Regions from separate parts of the Homo sapiens genome. Here regions 2, 3, 4, 5, 6 and 7 are each linked to region 1. The links are contacts of gene promoters, found by promoter capture Hi-C in blood cells and fetal thymus (Javierre and others, 2016). All regions are on one chromosome and are shown on one strand. Each heading gives the region's core, a stretch centred on a gene start or on the middle of the fragment in contact. The rest is flanking DNA. Distances are from core to core; before and after follow the strand shown. Region 1 holds the start of MED17 (mediator complex subunit 17). Region 2 has its middle 15 kb from the start of SLC36A4. Region 3 overlaps C11orf97 (chromosome 11 open reading frame 97). Region 4 overlaps MRE11 (MRE11 double strand break repair nuclease). Region 5 overlaps FUT4 (fucosyltransferase 4). Region 6 overlaps MRE11 (MRE11 double strand break repair nuclease). Region 7 has its middle 42 kb from the start of SLC36A4.

Region 1 (3,089 bases), core at 135-2,634:
ATTATTTCTTCTAACACTTTGTTTTACTTTCTTCATTTGGCACTTCAATCCTCAAAAATTACTGTGGAAATAATTTTTGTGTGAGGTATAAAGTAGTATTTACCTTTTTTTGCAAATAGACCCCTAATAATCCTAACAGCACTGCCCTGAAATGACATCTTTAAATTCCCATTTACACTGGGTGTGCTGCATAACTAAATTAAGAATTTTGATTTTTTTTTCAAAAATCCTTGACAATAATGAGAATCTGAAACCCACTCATTATTTCTTCACTTCCCTCCTAGTCTCCTCCCTTCCAGTTTTGCTTTCCCTATAATTCATTTATTAGAAAGCATCTAGAGTAAACTTTAACAAAACCATCTCTACTTATCCTGCAAAAGCTTTCAGTGGTCTTAACACTAGTCAAACGCTTATCCCGGCCTACTGGGTTCTACATGATCTGGACCCGCCTACCTCTTGGACCTCGTCACACATTTCAGTCAAAACAGACCTCTTTTCTGCAGGTGCTACTATCATCATTCACACCGCACAAGGATGCAAAGTAACTCGCCCAAGGTCACACAGCCGGCAAGGGGCAGAGCCCCGATCTAGGGCTCTTTTAGCCACTAAGTGTGCTACATTAAAGGCCCTCTACAGAGAAGCATTCATTTAAACATTTCACGGTTTGACAGTGTCTCTAAACGCTGCCATTCAAGGAGACCCGCAGGAGTATTACGTAAAGTCGTGTCCTACCTTGTCCGGCAGCAACAAAAAGATGACGACCAAGTATCCTTACGCTTCCGCTAGAGGGACACTCAAAAGTTCTCGCACGCACAAGATCACCCCCATCGCGGGAGAGGCGGAGGCCCGCGCGGGTGCTGGGACCCAGACCGGGGGACTCGGGCAGCGGATGCAGGCCTTACCTTCCTCGTCGTCCTGGTCTGCGCTGGACCCGGCGCCCGGCCACTCCTGCGCGTCGCCCTCGGTCCCCGCCGCCTCCTCCTCCTCGGAGCCCGAACCCTGGCTGAAGTCTATCCGCTGGGCCAGACGCGCCAGATTCTGCGACATGGACAGCGGGGGCAGGTACGTCTCGGTGCCATCCAGGCCCACCTCATGGACCTGCTTCTCGCAGGCCGATTCGATGCTGATCCGCACTGCGCGCACCCCGGACATGCTGGCTGCGTCGGCCAGCGGTGGGAGGACCCCCCACGAGCCAAAAAACGAGGTACGAAGAGGAGGCTTCCCTGCGGAGAGCCGGGAACTCAGAAGCCCGCAGCCGCGGTGCCTCAGAAGACCCTCGGGAAACCGAACGCAACGCTCAGACTGGAAACAAAGGAGCTGGCCCAGCAACTTTCCCAGAACGCACCGCAAGCTCCCTCCTCGGTAAGTCTTTCGGAGCAAAACTGGGCAGGCGCGGAAGCTCCAGGGTTCCCTAGAGCGCTTCCGGTGAATCACGGTGCAGGGTGGGGTAAACTTCCGGGCCTATAAGAGGCGTGGCCGGCAGAGGGAGGGAAAGAGCGGTTTGGGAGCCGAGAGTGTGGCGGGTATATTCCTTGCTTTTTAAGCCTGCGTTTGTTTAAAAAGTGGATGAGGAAAGAAAGCTGCAGAGGCTAGAAGAGTTAAGGAAAAGGAAATTAATGGATCCTTGGATCTTAGCAATGAGAGTCCTGTTGAGAGAACTGAGATCTGGTGGCGCGCGCCTGTGGTCCAGCTACGCGGGTGGCTGAGGCGGGAGAATGGCTTGAGCCCTGGAGATGGAGGCTGCAGTGAGCCGAGATCTCACCGCTGCATTCCAGCCTAAGCAACAGAGTGGGATCCTGCCTCAAAACAAAAGTTATTTTAAATTAGCAAGAAATTTTTTAAAGAAACACTATCTGAAGAGTTAGAAATTAAGGGCATGGCTTGGGGGAAACAATCGTGCTTATCACCACTTAAAATTATACTACGTAATTATTTGGTTTCCTGTTAGTTATAACTCTATGACAGCCAATATCTGCAGCAGACATAATAGACTCTGGCATGTAGTAAGTGCTTAATATTTATTTTATGCCCGAGTAACAGAATAAATAATGTTGATCTCGCTTTTTTATTAGTGATGGGGTCCCACTATGTTGCCCAGGCTGAGTGCAGAGGTTATTCACAAGTGCTGTCAGCACGCTACAGCCTGGAGCTCCTGGGCTCCAACGATGCTCCTGCCTTAGCCTCCTGAGGAGCTGGGACTATAGGAGCGTGTCACCATGCCTGGCCTGCAAATAATATTTAAAAGATTAAGAAGAAGTGGTATAACTTCAGTCTTTGGGTCTCCAAGAACGTATTTCATTAGTAGGAATTCCACAGACAAAGATGGATTATTTTATATTACAAACCTCTATATTTCGTTTAAGGAATTATATATACCGTTTATCATGAGTGTTTGCCAGGTTTTGTTCTGACCAAGATATATCTAGGTTTTGAACTACTTTCCTAAGGTATTTAGGAAAATACGGTTGCCCTGGTGTCAGTCCCTGCTGAAGAAGAAAGTAGATGGCCGTGTGTGGAGGGGGTTGAATTTTCATGAGAGAAACCTATTTCTGGCAAGCTGTACAGTCTGTCGCCCAATCATGTTCGAGAACCACTGTACTTGCTTTTCGTGTAAATTTGTTTAAAAATTTTTTTTAACTTTATTTTAAAATCTGATTAATAGCCAGGCGCAGTGGCAGTCTAATAGTGCAGACAAAAACAAGACAACAACAAATGATTATGATTCCTAGAATAAGCAAAGCTTTTGCCACCAAGTCTTCAAGATCAAAACTAGCTGCTTAGCCAGTTGTTTAAAGATGTGTTGGATCTGAAAGGTTAGTTGTTAAGGTTTTCATATTATCCATTAACGTAGTGATATTATCTGATTCATCTGGGATACAGACATAACACACAGTTTTTATGATAATGCAAGTTCCTCCCTGGGCTTCGGTGAGTATGTCAAAAGCCATACGGTTTTGTAATAATGGCCTTTTCCATAAGAATAACTATTGTTTAATAATGGAATACTTATGTAGCTATCTTTTGGGTATAATTGGTTAGGACCTCTATATGCCAAATAACATCTTCAACACTCAGTTGTGGTATGAAGA
Region 2 (3,101 bases), core at 3-2,502, 570 kb after region 1:
GTGTGCCTGTAATCCCAGCTACTCAGGAGGCTGAGGCAGGAGAATCGCTTGAACCTGGGAAGTGAAGGTTGCAGTGAGCTGAGATCACACCACTACACTCCAGCCTGGGCAACTCTGTCTCAGGGGGAAAAAAAAAAATTCATCAGATTGGAATTGGGATCCTGGGTTTGGTTCTTGTGACTACTAAGCCTTAGAATTTACTTCTTCTCTGAACCTCAGTTTGTTCATTTGTAAAATATTGATCATAATATTTATTTCTGTAGGGTTATTGTGAAGATTAAATGAGATAACGTATAAGAAAACACTAAGCATGATGCCTAGAACAGTGAATGTTAAATAATTCTCAATCTGAATGGGTCACTGATGTTGTTTTGGAGTATGCCAAATCCTGTAATTCTAGGTATTTTGGTTTCCTTATAGAGCCACATTTGAAAGATCACCAATGGAGATAAGGTCAAACTTGTTAGATTGTAAATAGCCTCTTGACATAAGTAATGGAACCCAAAGACCTAAATAGAGGATGGATGGATTAGTATCCATTTATAATACACAAAATGAACTGTTCTTGGTCAATTTCTCACTTCTTTGACTTAATACAATGGCCTATTATTAAGTAATCAATCATTGATCTAATTTATTATACAATGAATGCAGTCTATTGAGAAAGTCAGATCAAAATGCTTAGCTGTTTTATGAGGGAAAAATCAGATGAGGAACAATTGTGTGTTATCACTAAAAAACAAAATTAACAGGAACAGTATCCTATAAATGAAGCATAATGTGATTGGCTACCAGCCTGGTCTTAAAGAAAATGGGTTGGTGACATTTTCTTAAATGGTACCTTTTTCCAAGGACCTCTTATCTCAAAATCTTCTGAGGGCATGGGCTAGAATGCAGTCCTCCAACTGGAACTTCTCCTTTTTCCTGAATGGAAGCTTTCTAACTTCCATGCCACTTATTTTTATTACCAAAAAGCACATATATGTTGGTGTTTATTTTCTCTGATCAGTTCTATGGGGAATCTATATCTCTTAAGCAGATTTCCCAAATGAGTATGGAACTATTCTTTCCCAATGTGGTTGGTATTGTCAACAAGGTTATTAAATTGTGAGCAAGCTCCTTGAATAATCATGAAAAGTGTCCCAGGTAGCAGGAATTCCAGGATTCCTCATGCATAACATGTGTCTCAGGTGACCTACTTACCACAAGTAAGTCTTTCACACACTCCTTTTGAACTGTGATGAAAGTAAACTATACAAAAACTGACAGGTACAGCCTGTCAAATTAAATCCCAAACTAGACCTTGATGTTAAAATCCTGAAATAGAGAGGACTTATCAAGTTAAATTTACATGTGAGGATCATGAGTCCTTAGCATCAAGAGAAAACCCAGACTTTTGTACTCGGCATGATAATAGTTTTATTTGAAGACAACACAAGTGAAATAATTTCCTTGCAAGTTAATGTCTAACCAATACATAATGCTTAGAATGGAAAGAAGCAAATTTCGTAAAGCACCCTTTTTCTTTTGAGCCTTCGGGAGTACACTTGAGATTTATTATAAGCTTTAAAGCCTTTTACCAGTCATGTTAAATACCAAAGGGAATAACTTACATGTGGGAAAATAAAAGTGTCCTTTCCAGCACTCACCATAAGTCACTTTTTTTTTTTTTTTTTTTGTGAGACGGAGTCTCGCTCTGTCCCTCAGGCTGGAGTGCAGTGGCATGATTTCAGCTCACTGCAACCTCTGCCTCCCAGGTTCAAGCGATTCTCCTGCCTCAGCCTCCTGAGTAGCTGGGACTACAGGCGCATGCCACTATGGCTAATTTTTTGTGTTTTTGGTAGAGACAGGGTTTCACCGTGTTAGCCAGGATGGTCTCAATCTCCTGACTTCGTGATCCACCCACCTCGGCCTCCCAAAGTGCTGAGATTATAGGCGTAAGCCATTGTGCCCGGCCAAGTCACTTTTTTATTGTCCTTCAAAGAGTAGTATTTTCAGAAGACAATGCTTAATATGTTGGTTGTGGCATTTATGTTGGAATTAACCGCCATCAGTGAAGCTCAGTTACCTGATTTCAGGCTGATCTTCTGAATCTTTCATTAGCTATATGAAAATGGATAGACAGAAATGTACAATGTTGTAATGACTAAATCACACCACTGACCAATGGTCAGAACTGTGAGTGGCTCTCACAACCTGTCAGCTTAGCTGCTTAGGATCTCAAGAAGCTATGAGGCAGAGTGGATAATAGTATATGTCCTAAAGTTGAAATTAGATTTGGTTTTGATCTGTGAAATTTTGGGTAAGTCTCTGAGTCTGTCTAAGCTTGTCTTTTCTTTCTTTCCATTTCTAATTTTACTGAGGCATAATTGATGAAAACTATATATATTTACAGTGTCCAATATGATCTTTTGTTATATGCATACATTGTGAAAATGATGACCAATATTAAGCTAATGAACATATCCCTCACCTTGCATAGTTATCTTTATTGCTGAATGTGTGGAGAGAACATTTAAGATCTACTCTCAGCAAATTTCAAGTATAAACTCGAGAATTATTACCTGCAGTCATCATGCTGCATAACTGAGACTTTGTACTCTTTCACCAATATCTCCCTATTTCCTCCACCCCCAGCTCTTAGCAACTACCGTTCTACTCTCTGCATCTATGAGTTCAACTTCTTAAGATCCCAATGTAAGTAAGATGATGCAGCATTTTTCTTCTATGCCTGGCTTATTTCACTTAGCAAAGTGGCCTCTAGGTTCATTCATATTGTTAGAAATGACGGGATTTCATTCTTTTTTAAGGCTGAATAAAATACCATTGTGTGTACATATACATATTATATACCACGTTTTCTTTATCCATTTACCCATCAATGGACACATCTTATTATTGTGAATAATGCTGGAAGGAACATGACAGTACAGCTATTTCTTCTATATACTGATTTAATTTCTTTTGGATATATGCCCAACAGTGGGGCTGCGGCATCATGTGCTAGTTCTGTTTTTAAGTTTAATTTTTAATATCTTAGTTTCACTGATCTTTTCTGTTGTTCTTTTCAGCTTCTATTTCATTTATTTTTGCTCTGATCT
Region 3 (3,141 bases), core at 184-2,683, 750 kb before region 1:
TATTACATCATTAAGTATGAAAATGACTGTTGGCTTAAGATTGCTGTATATTTTTATAATTTTAAAGAAACCTCCTTGTAATCCTGCTTTATTAAGAAAAATACTTATAGAGTTAAAAAGCAAAACAAAACAGTTGCATCATATTATATAGTAACTTTAAAAAATCATCTCCTATCGGGCATTTTAGGTGGCTTCAGTTATTCACTATTATAAATAATGCCTGTACATGAATCTAGTTGGGAAAATACGCAATGGGGCAATGAAGAACAGAATTCAACTACAAAAGGAACCAGGTCCCCAGAGTGGAATAAGAATGAAACTTTAACACAGAAACAGTGCCATGAGAACAACTCTTAGTAGTAGAGGATGGTCAGAAAAGGAGAGACCAATTCAGAGCACCCAGCCCAGGCAGCAAATCTGAAAATAAATGACAAGGAGCTTGTTTATTGGCAGGAATATAGTGGAAGTGAGAAAGGAAATCCCTGAGCACGTTTATAAAGTCATACTGGGAACTCAAGTAAGAACAGGATATAATTTCCAATGGATTAACAAAAGTCTCCCACCCATTGCACTTTCTGTGTGACATCCTAACATACATGCGATGAGGTTGGGTGTAAGAATTTTTAGAAGCTTAAGATTTTAGATTTCTACAAATAGTAAATGCTTTGCCCTAACTAGGCAGTTTTGGGTGTTATATTTCTTAACCAATTTCAGATGTAATCCCTCAGTTTTAGGCATTGCCCTGTAACACTGTTTTGAAGTAGCCAGTGATGAAAAAGTTCCATAAACAAGGTGGTGGCTAGAATTGGCTTACATGTAGGATCTCATCTAGCAGGCAGTAGCTAAATGGAAAATTTTATATTAAATCTGGAAAGGTTTGGATCTTGACTCAAGATTATTGACTGTTTCATAGTGCAAATATTTTTAAGTAGGGAAGGGACATACTCAGTCAAAAAATCTGTTGACTAGATTTGTTACATTAGAAACAATTATGAACTTGGGAACAGGGAACTGAAGTAAGTTTTATGAGCTGAGTCTAGAGAGGAAGGAGAATGAAAAGTGTATAACCAGAATACTAGAAAAAAATAACTTTGTAAGGGGTAGGGGCTGGGAGTGTAAACAAATCACAGCAGTTATGTATAAAATGAAAAATATGAAAAACCCAAATATTAAAAAAATAGAGTAATAAATAAATAAGTTCAGAACAAATATATTAAGAATTTATGTAATTATTTAACATGATATTTTAATGAATGGGACAGTATGTAATTCAATAGTTCTTTCTGGAAATGGAATTACAGATGAGTTTTTTTCCTTTACATATCTTCATTTTCCAATTTTTCTATATTGCACATATATTACTTTGACAAATGGTGGAAAGGGAAGGAGTTTTTTTTTCTTCTTTTTAACTTGGCAGTATTATTTAAATACTTTTTTTTTTCTTTTCGAGACAGTGTCTCACTCTTTCACTCAGGCTGGAGTGCAGTGGTGTGATCTTGGCTCACTGCAACCTCCGCCTGCTGGGTTCAAGCGATTCTCCTGCCTCAGCCTCCCAAGTAGCTGGGATTACAAGAGTGTGCCACCATGCCTGGCTAAGTTTTGTATTTTTAGTAGAGATAGGGTTTCACCATTTTGGCCAGGCTGGTCTTGAACTCCTGACCTCAAGTGATCGGCCCGCCTTGGCATTCCAAAGTGCTGGGATTACAGGTGTGAGCCACTGTGCCCAGCCTAAATACTTTCTTTTTTAAGATCTTACCATAAATTTCCTGGCTCCTTACTATTTAGTGAACAAGTTCTAGAGAAATGATTAGCTCTACCAAGGTTACCATAAAAATGTTTGTCTCTGAGTCAAAGACTTTTCTTCTGTCATTCATTTACTCACCATTATCTGTATCTGGATTTAGTTCTGTTTTTTAAAAATGGGCTAACACATTATGCTGTAGTAAAGGGTTAAGGTTTATAATGTTTGCCTTGAAGTAAATACTCGGTAAACGTGCCTTTGCTTCATCATTGTTTCACATATTTAATAAAATAACCTGAATTAGAAGCCAAATGAATTATAACTGTGACAACTAAAAATAAGTATATTTTCCTTTATTGTTTTCAGGTACTTACTGAACATTACCAATAGTCTTTCATTACTTTGGATTAATTTATAGATAGGTATTAATACCAATAATAGTAATTACAGGCTATCATTTTTTTGCACACATCTTAAATCCTGAAACAAGCTTGAGTTTCTTCTCCGTTCTTCAGACATCAGCAGAAAGAGGTTCCTTCTTAATGGAAAATCTAATTCATCTTATCCTAGAGTTAAAAAAAAAAGTGAAAAAATAAGTGTTTTACTTCGGGGAGATGCTCTTTAATCTCACCCATTTTAATCTAAATTTGACTTAATGTTCCCATTTGATTGAGCAGAATGTAAGAGCCACACCCATGTCATCCCAGTAACCAGAAAAGCCACTACTTAGTCTTCCAAACCCTCACGACTGAAGCATAGTTTCCGGACAAGCAGCATCAGCATCACCTGGGAGCTGGATGGAAATACAGAATCTCAGACCCCACCCCAGACCTATGGTATCAGAGTCTGAATTTTATTGAGATACCATGTGAATTGTAGGCACATTCAAGCTTAGCACCAGACTAGACAATGCTTTTTTTTTTTTTTTTTTTTTTGGCTTGTTTTGTGGCACAGAATAAGAAGGAAACGATAAAAGGTTTTTTGTCATCAACCATTACCGTTTGTTTGTTTGTTTGTTTGTTTGAAACACAGTCTTGCTCTGTCACCCAGGCTGGAGTGAAGTGGCCCAATCTTGGGTCGCTGCAACCCCTGCCACCCAGGTTCAAGCGATTCTGGTTCTTCAGCCTCCTGAGTAGCTGGGACTAGAAGCGTGCGTCACCCCGCCTGCTAATTTTTGTATTTTTAGTAGAGACGGGGTTTCGCCATGTTGACCAGGCTGGTCTTGAACTCCTGGCCTCAAGTGATCTGCCCGCCTTGGCCTCCCAGAGTGCTGGGATTGATAAAAGTAAATGAATAAAACCTCTTAGTGTGATGAAAGCAGTAGATGCTTCACAGTCTCTAATGGAAACATGCTTTAGAACTACAGTTGGATGATCATAATTCTAAATTTAAACTTTAAA
Region 4 (3,166 bases), core at 319-2,818, 660 kb before region 1:
ATAAATATTTTTTGTTTTTATTTTTATTTTTGAGACAGGGTCTCTCTTTGTCACCCAGGCTGGAGTGCAGTGGTGTGATCATAGCTCACTGCAGCCTGTATCTCCTAGGCTCAAGTGATCCTCCTGCCTCAGCCTCCTGTGTAGCTCGGGACTACAGGTGCATGCCACCATGCCTAATTTTTTTTTTTTTTTTTTTTTTTTGTAGAGACGGGGTTTCGCTGTGTTGCCCAGGCTTGTCTCAAACTCTTGGGTGCAAGTGATCCTCCCGCCTCGGCCTCCCAAAGTGCTGAGATTACAGGCGTGAGCCACTGTGTCAGCCTCCTTTATGTTTTTATAGTATGATTAGTTCATGTCAATGCCTAAATTAATGATTTTTAGGATGGTACGTTATCTCATTGTGTGTACTTTCTCCTTCTTCTCCCTCTTAGGCTATGACCAGGGCCAGAGCACTCAGATCTCAGTCAGAGGAGTCTGCTTCTGCCTTTAGTGCTGATGACCTTATGAGTATAGATTTAGCAGAACAGATGGCTAATGACTCTGATGATAGCATCTCAGCAGCAACCAACAAAGGAAGAGGCCGAGGAAGAGGTCGAAGAGGTGGAAGAGGGCAGAATTCAGCATCGAGAGGAGGGTCTCAAAGAGGAAGAGGTGAGCACTGAGTTCAGTCCTGTGCACATTCACACTTGGCAGTTGAGTGGAAAATACAGAATTAGATCTTGTCAGAGTTGAATTATAAGTTTTATTTCTAAAACACGGTTCTTTAAAAATCTATTTTTATAATATATAAAGACAGTCTTTAAGGCAGTTCTGACATGTGCCTTTTACTTAAATAAATTTTGAATGGCCACATGCACTTAGGGTTTTAATTGTTCTTAGCACATACCTTATAAAAGCTTCACTGTGTTTGTCACGTAGTACCTTTTGGATACATTTAATGTCATATGTATTTTCACATGTGCAAAGTAATAGGCAAATATGAGTTGTTAAAGAAAATAGCTAAAAGCCTTTGGCAACAGGAGGAAAACTCCAGATCATACAATTATTATTTTTGTTACTGTCATAAGATACAAATACACATATGCTTATCAAGTAGTCTTTATAAAGTCAGTTTAAGAAAGAAAACTGCCCCCCAATTTGATTCCTAAAACTAGTCATTAACATAGTCAACATTGTATTTACTGTGAGACTATTGTCATTGAATAGTTCACGCCAATAGAAATTGGTCACTCAGTGACTTTCTCACACATTATGTCAGTTCATCTCTAAAGATTTTTTAAAATTGTTTTTATTAAATATGCATCCATAGGAATTTTAAGCTGGTGAAATGAATATTAATTTGGTTTAAAATCTCCAGGGAGAGAAATCCTCATCTTTTAATGATGATTATTTTCACTATTCTTACATTTACAAAATTTTTCCTTAAAAATTTTTATTTTTGTTTTTTAATTTTTCTTGAGATGGAGTCTTGTCTTTGCTCTGTTGCCCAGGCTGGAGTGCAATGGTGCGATTTCAGCTCACTGCAACTTCCGCCTCCCAGGTTCAAGCAATTCTCCTGCCTCAGCCTCCCAGGTAGCTGGGATTACAGGGGCCCATCATCATGCCAGTTAATTTTTGTATTTTTAGTAGAGGTGGGGTTTCACCATGTTGGCCAGGCTAGTCTTGAACTCTTGACCTCAAGTGATCCTCCCGCCTCTGTCTCCCAAAGTGCTGGGATTACAGGCGTGAGCTACCACGTCCAGCCTATTTCCTTACATTTTAATTGGATAAATTAAATTGGATAAACTGAAGTGTGGCCTAAAAGAATAGTCTCTGAAAATTGGTCAGACTCTAGATGTTTGTTCTTATATATATGTCTGGCTTTTTACAGACAAACTATTTGACATAAGTTTATTTAGCTTTCATTTTTTAGTGTTGTATGAAATAAACCTTAGCTGCTGATAGGCTTGTACATTGACTGTTCATTTTTCTAACAGCAGACACTGGTCTGGAGACTTCTACCCGTAGCAGGAACTCAAAGACTGCTGTGTCAGCATCTAGAAATATGTCTATTATAGATGGTGAGTATAGACTGCAAGTGATTATTTATAAATTCCAACATTAGAAAGACCAAGGTAATCACCATTGGTAGCCCTTATTTGTGTTGCAATCATTGGGAAGTTATAAGGGCAATTAGGATCACAGGATAAATTATTTTTTAAAAGATCTTTGCTATGCATTAGAGTTACTGAAGAGGGTAAGCTTTTAAAATCATGTTTTATAGGCCAGGCACAGTGGATCACACCTGTAATCCCAGCACTTTGGGAGGCCGAGACAGGCAGATCACGAGGTCAGGAGATCGAGACCAGCCTGGCCAACATGGTGAAACCCGGTCTCTACTAAAAATACAAAAATCAGCCAGGCGTGGTGGCACATGCCTGTAGTCCCAGCTACTTGGGAGGCTGAGGCAGGAGAATCACTTGAACCCAGGAACTGGAGGTTGCAGTGAGCCAAGATCATGCCATTGGACTCTACCCTAGCAACAGAGAGAGACTCCGTCTCAAAAACAAAACAAAACAAAACAAAAATTATGTTTTATAATTTCTTACTTTCAGACAAATGCTGTTTCTGTTTGGCAGAGAGACCCTGGAAACAGGAAAGTGAAGTAGTTGGTCACTATATGGACAGTGGTCGAAAGAGAGAGGAACTGTCTCTACTGTTTCCTTGCTTCCCCCATACTGCCCTGTCAGTCTCTGCTTTCCATATAGAGAAGTCATGTGACCTATATTTAAGAGAAATTATGGCTAGGCCCTTGGAATTAATTTGTGTATATCCTATGGTCTAAAAATTGGCCTCAAGGGGATCTGTTTAACTATTTTTAATATTATAGATGATGAGATCAGCCTAAAATGTTAGTCATATTTACAAAAAGTATGCATTAAGATAGGTGGTGATACTTTTTTCTACCTAGCATTTAGAATATATTCATATGTATATTATTTATATTATCAGTTATTTGAGGTTATTGTTTCACTTTTATAATTATAAATATTTTTTAAATATTATAATTGTAATATTTATAATCTTATAGCTAGGATTAATTGTTGACACACTGGGGAGCTGAACTAATTCTCAGAAGATGAAGTTTATCAAGGGTAATATAAACCACATTTATGTCCAAAAGGACAGC
Region 5 (3,008 bases), core at 319-2,818, 760 kb before region 1:
GAGTGTGTGTGTGTGCATGCATGTGTGTGTGCGTGCGTGCGTGTGTGTGGTGTTGGAGGAGGGCAGGTAGGAAAGAAGAGACAATAGTTAGTGTTTATTACCACTTCGTATTTTCCTATTTCAATAATTTAAGCATCGGCTGTTAAGAAGAAAGCTTGCCTCCCCTTCTCTCTGCCCATCATCATGTTCCCAGTTCTGATCCTACTCTTTTTAAAATGGCATTTAATTTAGTGAACAGGAGCTAGAGACAATACATGGAGGGCATCACATCAGAGCACTCAGGAAAATAAACTGGACTGAGAGAAAGGAGTATACTACTTATGCCCTTGGAGATGATTCCTCAGAATAAAGTGGAAAAGACAGGCAAGAAAGAACAAGAGGACAGGCTGAATTGGACTTTGTGCAACACAGAAGAGGCAAAGCCATCACATTCCAATTACCAATCTAGAACTAGTGAACTTACAGAAACTGCCCCAAGCCAAGAAATATCCCATGGGTGACGACTGAACACATTAGTGCATGGAGGATATACATTATAAACAGAGTCATTTTCCATCTCATTATTTTAATCATTTTGTCAAAAAATCTGAACATGTGTACATAAATACTTGATTTGTTAAAAGAATGTGTAGCATAGAAATCCCTGAGACACATTCAAAAATGACTTGACATCTTGACATGTATTCAATGCAAGTATTCACCAAACTAAATACCAAGGACTTGGCTCCTTTCCCTGATATTTGAGGCATATAAAGCTTTAAAAATATATATAATATACTATATATATAATTTACATCTTTAAAGTTAAATTATATTTTCTTTCTCTGATTCCTGGTTTTCTGCCAGTTTACTGCTCCTGCATATTGTCAGTTCCAGACTGTAAGGAAGCCACATTGGAAAGCAGATAAGCACTTTCAACCTTAGGGTGCCAGTTAGTAGAATGATAGCACGTGGAACTAGGAGGTCCCAACAGATGATTTTGTCTAACCCACTCATTTTGCAGTTCAGGTGACAGAGGCTCAAAGAGGTTGTGATTTGCAGAAGCATGGCTGGTTCTGCCACTGCTATTGTAATGTTATGCAAGTCCTTCAGTGGGCCTGGACCTTGGCTCCTTCCTCGGTAAAATGGACTGATGGTAATCACAGCGAATATTTTCCAGGTGCTTCCTACATGCCAGGCACTATCCTGAGTACTTCAAGTGTCTAATCTATCCTCTCAACACCTCCATAAATTATATATGCAAAGCGTAAAATATTTACTCCCTGGAAAAACGTTTGCCAATCCCTGGTTTAGATCCTTGAAAATTTAGAACATCTTATAATTATATAGCACTTTACAATATACAAAGCACCTTGGCATACATCATCACATTTAATCTTTGTTTTGTAGGGGGATAGGCATTCATGCATTGTAAAGGAGAAAGCTAAAACTCAAGAGTTTAAGTAACTTGCTTCATCAAGGCCACAGAGTCATACCCAGGTTCTGACTCCAAACTGCATGCTCTTTACATGAAACTCCTCTGTCTCCCCTAAATTACTGCTAGGAAAAGACTTGGAAACTGGAAAGAACTTGTGAATACTGAAAGCAAGTCAGACCGTCTTCTGTTACAAATGTCATTCCAGGTGCATTCATGTAATTAGAGTCATCAAGTACTAAAAATACTAAATTTGTAATAAATTTGAGGGAAAAGCCTTAAAGGAGGACATGACAATCATAGGAAAGGCATTTTGAAATACATACAGTGCACCGATATGCATTTTTCTTAAGGTATGTTAGAGCTGAACCTACTCAATTTAATATATGCAAAATAAAATGAGCAATTGCCACATTCATCTCGCTCTCTGATGAGATTAGTGTTAAATTGTTCCACATTAACAATGTGTATGTGAATAAAAATGCAATGGCTGGGCACGGCGGCTCACACCTGTAATCCCAGCTCTCTGAGAGGCCGAGGCAGGTGGATCACAAGGTCAGGAGTTCAAGACCAGCCTGCCCAACATGGTGAAACGCAGTCTCTACTAAAAATACAAAAAATTGGCCAGGCGTGGTGGCAGGCGCCTGTAGTCTCAGCTGCTCGGGAGGCTGAGGCAGGAGAATCGCTTGAACCTGGGAGGCGGAGGTTGCAGTGAGCCAAGATCACGCCACTGCAGTCCAGCTGGGGCTACAGTGCAAGACTCCGTCTCAAAAAAAAAAAAATGCAATTATACCTTCCTCATGCTAATTATTCCATAAATAATATGGTTAGTTCTAAATGGACTTAATACTAAAAAAAAATTGGTAAAATAATAGATACCAATTTATAGAGCTTTACCAAAACGAACCAAAAAAATATTTTCAAAGAAAGCCTAGGTGCTTCTTCCTAGTTTGCAAGTCAAGCTTAATCTAAATGGTGATTTAGATTATCCTTTTAATTTATTCTACAACATACCTTAAGATATAATTTTAGACCTATAAATAGATATGAGGACATCCTGAAATCACTGCAAGCAAAGAAGGAAGATATAAAATCATCAATTGGGTGCCTGCTATTTTAGGTACTTTCACTTACTTCCTAAAGTGCTCAAAATGAGCTTGTGAAGTATTTTCGCCAGTCATTTTATAGATGAGGACGCTGAGGCTCAGGACTACTACTAATTTACCCAATGTCACATAGCTGGAATTCAAATCTAAACTAGGTTACCTTCAAAACCTGAACTCTTTCCCACTGCCCCATGTGGAATCCCGGTAACACCAAGATCACTGACTGTTATCTCATAAAAACTCATTTTAAGAACTGAACTTTTATCTTTATTCGGTGGCTGGCACTTTGTAATTGTAATTCTGCCCACACTTTAATACTTTAATGAGGACATTTTCTCCACAGCTTTTCATTTGTCCTCTCAAGAAAGTGAATTGAAGCACCTAGATTTAAGTGAGCTTTTCAAGTATGTCTGCAAAAACATGTACAGAGAGGTAAAACTTGCTTTATGATTCAGAGAACTGCACTAATCAAATGCAAAATGACTATT
Region 6 (2,973 bases), core at 458-2,957, 690 kb before region 1:
TAAAATATGTTGAGTGATAAAAGCAGGATGCAGAAATGTATATTTTTCTATCATTTATGTAAGGAGAAAGAAAAATCTGTTTATTTGTGTGGATAGGTATAGGATCCTTTTGAAAGATGCACTAGAAATTGCTAACATTATTTGCCTCTGAGAAGAGGAGCTGGATGGCTGGGGGCAGGGGCTGACAGGAGACTTTAATTTGAACAGGCAATAAGTGATAGAGCTGGGAGTTTTAATCTACCTCTTTGGGATTCTAAAGTATATGGATTTTCTTCCCTCCCCCCACTACGAATAAAAACCATATGCTAAGTTTTTAAAATTTTGAAGGCTTATTAACTTTTCATTAATTAGATATACTACTCATACATACCACAAGCACTGTTTATTATAGTTGGGGTTTCTTTAAAATGTAGTGCTTTGAGATATTTTCAAACTAATTGAAATGAATTGTCGCCTATGATTTTATTTTTTAAAGCTCTAAACTAGTGGTCATATGCCAATGTAGATTATGCAGTTTGCCTATGATTGCATTAATATTTTGGAGGAGAATCTTAGGGAAAACAGCTTTTGTCCCGTATGGAAATTTTAAGTAACTTTTTTTTTTTAAGGTTTCCATGGGTGAACTATCAAGATGGCAACCTCAACATTTCAATTCCAGTGTTTAGTATTCATGGCAATCATGACGATCCCACAGGGGTAATTATTGTTTTCTTAGAGTTTGTTGGAATTTTGGAAATGATCAGTTTAGTTTGTCTGTGGAAAGCATGCCTTCCCTTTTTCTCATTGTGTAGTCAAATTGAGTCAAAAGTCAAGTTGACTTTTCACATTCATACAAGCTTTTATACTGCTTTTTAGATTTTTTAAAAATCTGAAATAAGAATTGGTGTATGAGCTATGCTTTTATTTCATTAATACTGATGTTAACAATAAGAAGCCAGGAGTAGGAGTGAACACCTAACATCTGTATAGTGGTTTACAGTTTGTCAGTGTTTTTATAACTATCTTATAAAATCTCACTTTTAGGAAATGATTGTTCAAGACCATCTTTAAATCTAAATTAGATTATCTTATTACCTGTTTGATATGGAAGTAAGACTAGAGATCCTACAAGTATTTTTTCATTTTATCTGGTCATTAATATTATGAATCACTGATTATCTATGGTCTTTTTTCCCCAGGCTTTAAGACGGTTGCTTAATATTACAAAGCATTTATCTCATGGCTAATTTTTATTTTTTTGTGGCCAAGACATCATAAGTTTTGATGAGATATTAACCTTGCCTTTGGCATGTGATTCCAGTTGCTGTAGGTGATTTGTAGTACAAAAATGTAGCAAATACTTTTACTATTGTAATTTTGTTTTGAGAAGACACTATCCTCATCTATGTTTTTGTAAGTAGAATATGGAGTATGCTTTTAACAGGTGATACGATATTCATGCAGATACCTACTTTTACATACACACTAACATTCTTTGAAATTATTTTGCATAGGCAGATGCACTTTGTGCCTTGGACATTTTAAGTTGTGCTGGATTTGTAAATCACTTTGGACGTTCAATGTCTGTGGAGAAGATAGACATTAGTCCGGTTTTGCTTCAAAAAGGAAGCACAAAGATTGCGCTATATGGTTTAGGTAAGACAGTTTTATTTTACTGTTTATGTCCATGTGTGATTCTTTAAACAATTGAGAAATTTGGAGATAAGTTTGTATCTGTTTGGAAAAAATGGGGCAAACCTTATTCTTTATTGGTGACTATAAAAAATGATGGATGGTTTTGGTAAAAATTTTTGGTGAAAAAATGTCTTTTCGTTACTATTTATTATTTTGGGTTTTTTTTAGACTCAGGTGTAGAATCCTGAATGTTAGAATTATAGAATAATTAGCAAAACTGCACTTTGATATCTTGGAAGTCTTTGAAAGGTCTAATGCTTCACTGTACAATACCGCTAGCTTATAATTTTGTGCAGCTTTCATAATACCTCTGGCAAGTAGAAAAGCATCATGGTTATTTATATTTTAGAGATAAGGAAAATGAAATCTGGATGTTATATCTGATTCTGCAAGTGAAAGAGCAGGAAGTGAAATATACTTTTCTTAAAAAAGCTATTAACAGTTGTTTTAATCACTGCAGTGTTATTAGGGATCATATCTCCAGAAAATTGCCTTTCCTCCTCCATTCAGACTAAGGACAGATTCCATTATGCCTCAGTCACCACCAGAAGCACATCTCTCCAGTCATCCATTTTCTCCCAAACTCTTATCTTATCCTGTTCTATTATACCTTCCTTAACTGGACTCTGTCTCCACCCTGCACCCCTCCCTGTCCCCCAGCTCTTCATTATAAACTCTAGAACTCTTTTTATAATTATCAGATTCCTCATTATTATCAGTCTCTTCTCTGAATGTTACCTCCACTTTCTAACCTTCAGTGAAGCCCAGCTGTCCCCTGAGGTTCCTGTGTCCCATGCAGTTCTCTTACCCCTGGGCTTTTGGAAAGAAGCGGGGATCACTGTTCTCCTTGCTCCACCCACTGCTTCCTTTTCTGCCTGCAAACACACTGTTCCCTTTAAGCTTCTGCCATCTGGCTAAACCGCATTGCTTTTTCTCTCAGACTTTTTACCTACTTACCTACCTTCAATTTTGCCAGTGTTTTTAGTGTTTCAACACTCAAGTAGATTAATCTTCTAATGCCTTGGGCTTTGTGTGCCTTGACTTTTTTGTCTCCAGTTACATGTTCTACATTCCACCTCAGCCATGTATTCCATTGGCCACTCCTGTAGCATTCTCCTTGGGAGCTAGGCCACTTCTAACTTCTAGACTTCTACATTGTTGGCTTTTCTTCTGAGACCCTCTCTAATCCGTATATAAAGTAGCAGTGTTGTCCACCCTTTTAATTCCATAGTGTTAATTCGCCATCTTAGCATCCTGGCTTTTTCTCCTTTTATAATATTTAATATTTGTAACTATTTT
Region 7 (2,974 bases), core at 74-2,573, 540 kb after region 1:
TGGCTTACTGCAAGCTCCATCTCCCGGGTTCACGCCATTCTCCTGCCTCAGCCTCCTGAGTGGCTAGGACTACAGGTGCCTGCCACCATGCCCGGCTAATTTTTTGTATTTTTAGTAGAGACGGGGTTTCACCATGTTAGCCAGGATGGTCTCGATCTCCTGACCTCGTGATCCGCCCGTCTCGGCCTCACAAAGTGCTGGGATTACCGGCATGAGCCACCTCACCCGGTCAACTCCAGGCAACATTTTTAAGCCCTCTCTGCATAGTATACAGTACCCAAGTTAAGAATCATTGATTTATATCACCTGGCCATAGTAATGTCTCTATGCTGAGAACTTCACACAAATACATTAGAGAGACACAGATTTTGCCACATTAGATGAAAAAGGCTGTGATGCAAAGCGATGTCGGTGTACACATAGAAGGAATAAAATGACATTTTTCTTTCAGAATATTGTCCTTTTTATTTGTCTAGCAGCCATTATTTATCTAAGATTCATCACAAGCATTGGACATTGCTCTGGTTCTCAAATCTATTTTATTTTTGTATAATAATTTTAATCTTGTGTATTTTATCAAGTTCATTTTCAGCTCTGCTCCTTCCTTCAGTGCAGCACAGGAGGTAAGAGAATAGGATGTAGAACAAATCTTCACTCTTTACTTCAACAAGTAACATCTCTCTCGATATCAGTGAATAATCTTTTGCAGACAAGCATCAGGAAACCTAGTTCAAACTGTTTTGCACATGAAACTGGTAAGTTGAGGAGGAACAGACACAGCTGAATCCAGGTGTAGCTTCATCTAGGATGTCAATCAATACTACTTTTTTTATTTTAACTTTTTTTAAGTTTTTAAAATTTTTGTGGGTACATAGTTGGTATATGTATTTATAGGGTACATGAGATGTTTTGATACAGGCATGCAATGTGAAGTAAGCACATTACGGAAATTGGGGTATCCATTGCCTCAACCATTTATCCTTTGAGTTACAAATAATCCAATTACACTCTTTAAGTTATTTTAAAATGTACAACTAAGTTATTGACTATAGTCATCCATTTGTGCTATCAAATAGTAGGTCATATTCATTCATTTTTTTGTGTGTGTGTGTTCATTAACTATCCCACCTCCCTGCCAGCCTGCCACTATCCTCCCCAGCATCTGGTAACTGTCCTTCTACTTTCCATGTCCATGAGTTCAATTGTTTTGATTTTTAGATCCCACAAGTAAGTGAGAACCTGAGATGTTTGTCTTTCTGTGTCTGGCTTATTTCACTAAACGCAATGATCTCCAGTTCAATTTCTATTATTTCAAATGACTGAATGTCATCTTTTTTTTTTTATGGCTGAATAGCACTACATACACAATACCTCTTGTGCGCTTGCTCTCCCCTCTCTTATCTTTGCTTTCTTCTACGTTAGTTTCATTCTCAGTGAGATCATATCCATGTGATGGCAGCAATATCCCTGACTAGTACAGATTTATATTCAAACAGTGTGAGAATCCCAGAAGAAAGATAGCAGCCCCTCATTGGAGAATGAAGTATCTATGTCATAAGAACACATTCCTCTGACCTATAACACCTAGAACACTGAGATAATTTAAAAATATATAGAGAGAGTCTGGCAGAGATCATCTTGCCAGAGGAATACTGAAAAATTTTACAGGATACAAAATTATACTATTTCCAATCTCTTCCAAACAGCCATATATTCTCCCTAATATATACCCCTTCACCAAAAGAATGAAAGTAAAAAAGCAAAAAGAAGAAAAACAACATTATAAAAATTATATTATCCAGGGCCTTTTATTTTCTTTAATCACTCAAGATTCTATGACTAAAAATTAAGTTTTCAGAAGAAAGTTCTTCTGGTTTTCCCTTATCAGTGGAAGTGGTTCCAATCAGGAAATGTTGAAACTAACAGTGCTATTCAGGAGCAATCAGTTATTTATAAACCACAAAAGGAAAAGACAACAACCCAGCTATTCAAAGTCGTCTACCTTTAGAAGATTACACAGAGTCTGATAGAAAGAAGCAGATTCAGAAGTTTTCTGCTAGTTGAGTTAGTAACCTACCTAATATAACAAGTATCAATCATTGGCATATTCATTTTATCCTTCAAAATGAATTATAGAGTACTTACTAATACTTAAGCATAAAGACATGCACTGCAAGTGATTAGCTATGGTTTTGGTATAATCATCCCTTCTGAACCAACATACTATTCATGTTTCACTCAATAAATATTAAGCTCCCATTCTACACCAAGCCCTGACTAAATGCTGGGGATACCATGTTGATTGGAGAGAGAAAGTCCCTGCCTTCATGGACATTGCATTCTGATGAGCGAAACCTGGTGAATGCCTTAGCCAGAATGTCTAGCATTCTGCCTGTGCTGGTACTTGTCTGGAATTTTTCATTTCTCCTATCCTGCTGTTAGATGTTACACTTCTTTGTTTCACTCAAAGTGCTGCTCTAGCTTAGTCCTCAGCATTCCACTGCAGATGAATTGCTTCCCTGTGATTAGGCTGGTTTGCAGAGTTCTCAGACTTAAGATGGCTGAAATTTCACACCTTTGCATGGTAACCACACGCATTCCATCACATGCACTTCTATTCCTTTATTTCTGTTCCTATTCACTATGAGAGAAACCCACATAATGGCAGGTATAGTGTCCCTCAAGTATGAGTGTACTCTGAAAGAAAATGCTCTCTGCTCATGAACACCTTCTGCAAAGATCATTTTTTTCCAAAGGGGCTTTTATAAGCTTCCCTGAATTAAATGGAAGAAAAAAACATCTCTCTTTGGAGCAATAGCCTGAAGATATCCTCCTTTGTCAGAAATTGTTTTCACTATGATCCCACTATCAAGTATATCCCATTCACCATCCCTGCATAAATCCCTGTTCTGTAGGTTAAAAGTTCTCCTTTTATACTCCCAGGTATATACCCAACACGAATTACGCGCTTGTT

What was found. Contacts are between HindIII fragments. The CHiCAGO score rates a contact against its expected background, and 5 or more counts as called.
Region 2: a fragment that was not itself captured here is called in contact with the fragment with the promoter of MED17 in region 1 in 1 of 17 cell types (monocytes); the score reaches 6.8 in monocytes.
Region 3: a fragment that was not itself captured here is called in contact with the fragment with the promoter of MED17 in region 1 in 8 of 17 cell types (activated CD4 T cells, M0 macrophages, naive CD4 T cells and 5 more); the score reaches 6.9 in activated CD4 T cells.
Region 4: a contact is called between a fragment that was not itself captured here and the fragment with the promoter of MED17 in region 1, in 5 of 17 cell types (M0 macrophages, total CD8 T cells, naive CD4 T cells and 2 more). The highest score is 7.6, in M0 macrophages.
Region 5: a contact is called between a fragment that was not itself captured here and the fragment with the promoter of MED17 in region 1, in 1 of 17 cell types (non-activated CD4 T cells). The highest score is 6.5, in non-activated CD4 T cells.
Region 6: a fragment that was not itself captured here is called in contact with the fragment with the promoter of MED17 in region 1 in 14 of 17 cell types (naive CD4 T cells, megakaryocytes, M1 macrophages and 11 more); the score reaches 9.2 in naive CD4 T cells.
Region 7: a fragment that was not itself captured here is called in contact with the fragment with the promoter of MED17 in region 1 in 1 of 17 cell types (monocytes); the score reaches 6.3 in monocytes.

What each region holds. Positions count from the first base shown.
Region 1 is chr11:93,782,577-93,785,665 of GRCh38, reverse strand. MED17 (mediator complex subunit 17) reads right to left here and starts at 1,384. Exons shown (of 12, transcript NM_004268.5): 1 at 903-1,384. The coding sequence starts at 1,152. RefSeq lists silencers at 652-846, 848-977 and enhancers at 1,108-1,327, 1,269-1,563. The HindIII fragment of the contact is 2,360 bases long and covers 383-2,742 here.
Region 2 is chr11:93,211,893-93,214,993 of GRCh38, reverse strand. No RefSeq gene overlaps it. Among named protein-coding and RNA genes, the nearest start is that of SLC36A4, 15 kb to the right of the region's middle. The HindIII fragment of the contact is 629 bases long and covers 938-1,566 here.
Region 3 is chr11:94,531,062-94,534,202 of GRCh38, reverse strand. It overlaps C11orf97 (chromosome 11 open reading frame 97), which reads right to left. Exons shown (of 4, transcript NM_001190462.2): 4 at 2,080-2,307. The coding sequence ends at 2,303. Among named protein-coding and RNA genes, the nearest start is that of FUT4, 11 kb to the left of the region's middle. The HindIII fragment of the contact is 1,601 bases long and covers 633-2,233 here.
Region 4 is chr11:94,444,701-94,447,866 of GRCh38, reverse strand. MRE11 (MRE11 double strand break repair nuclease) reads left to right here. Exons shown (of 20, transcript NM_005591.4): 15 at 429-648; 16 at 1,974-2,057. Among named protein-coding and RNA genes, the nearest start is that of MIR548L, 20 kb to the left of the region's middle. The HindIII fragment of the contact is 1,345 bases long and covers 896-2,240 here.
Region 5 is chr11:94,547,436-94,550,443 of GRCh38, reverse strand. FUT4 (fucosyltransferase 4) reads right to left here. Exons shown (of 1, transcript NM_002033.4): 1 at 549-3,008. The region is part of intron 4 of PIWIL4-AS1 (PIWIL4 antisense RNA 1); the gene reads left to right. Among named protein-coding and RNA genes, the nearest start is that of FUT4, 5.0 kb to the right of the region's middle. The HindIII fragment of the contact is 1,621 bases long and covers 758-2,378 here.
Region 6 is chr11:94,477,397-94,480,369 of GRCh38, reverse strand. It overlaps MRE11 (MRE11 double strand break repair nuclease), which reads left to right. Exons shown (of 20, transcript NM_005591.4): 5 at 609-696; 6 at 1,494-1,635. Among named protein-coding and RNA genes, the nearest start is that of MIR548L, 12 kb to the right of the region's middle. The HindIII fragment of the contact is 1,738 bases long and covers 839-2,576 here.
Region 7 is chr11:93,238,634-93,241,607 of GRCh38, reverse strand. No RefSeq gene overlaps it. Among named protein-coding and RNA genes, the nearest start is that of SLC36A4, 42 kb to the right of the region's middle. The HindIII fragment of the contact is 2,897 bases long and covers 1-2,771 here.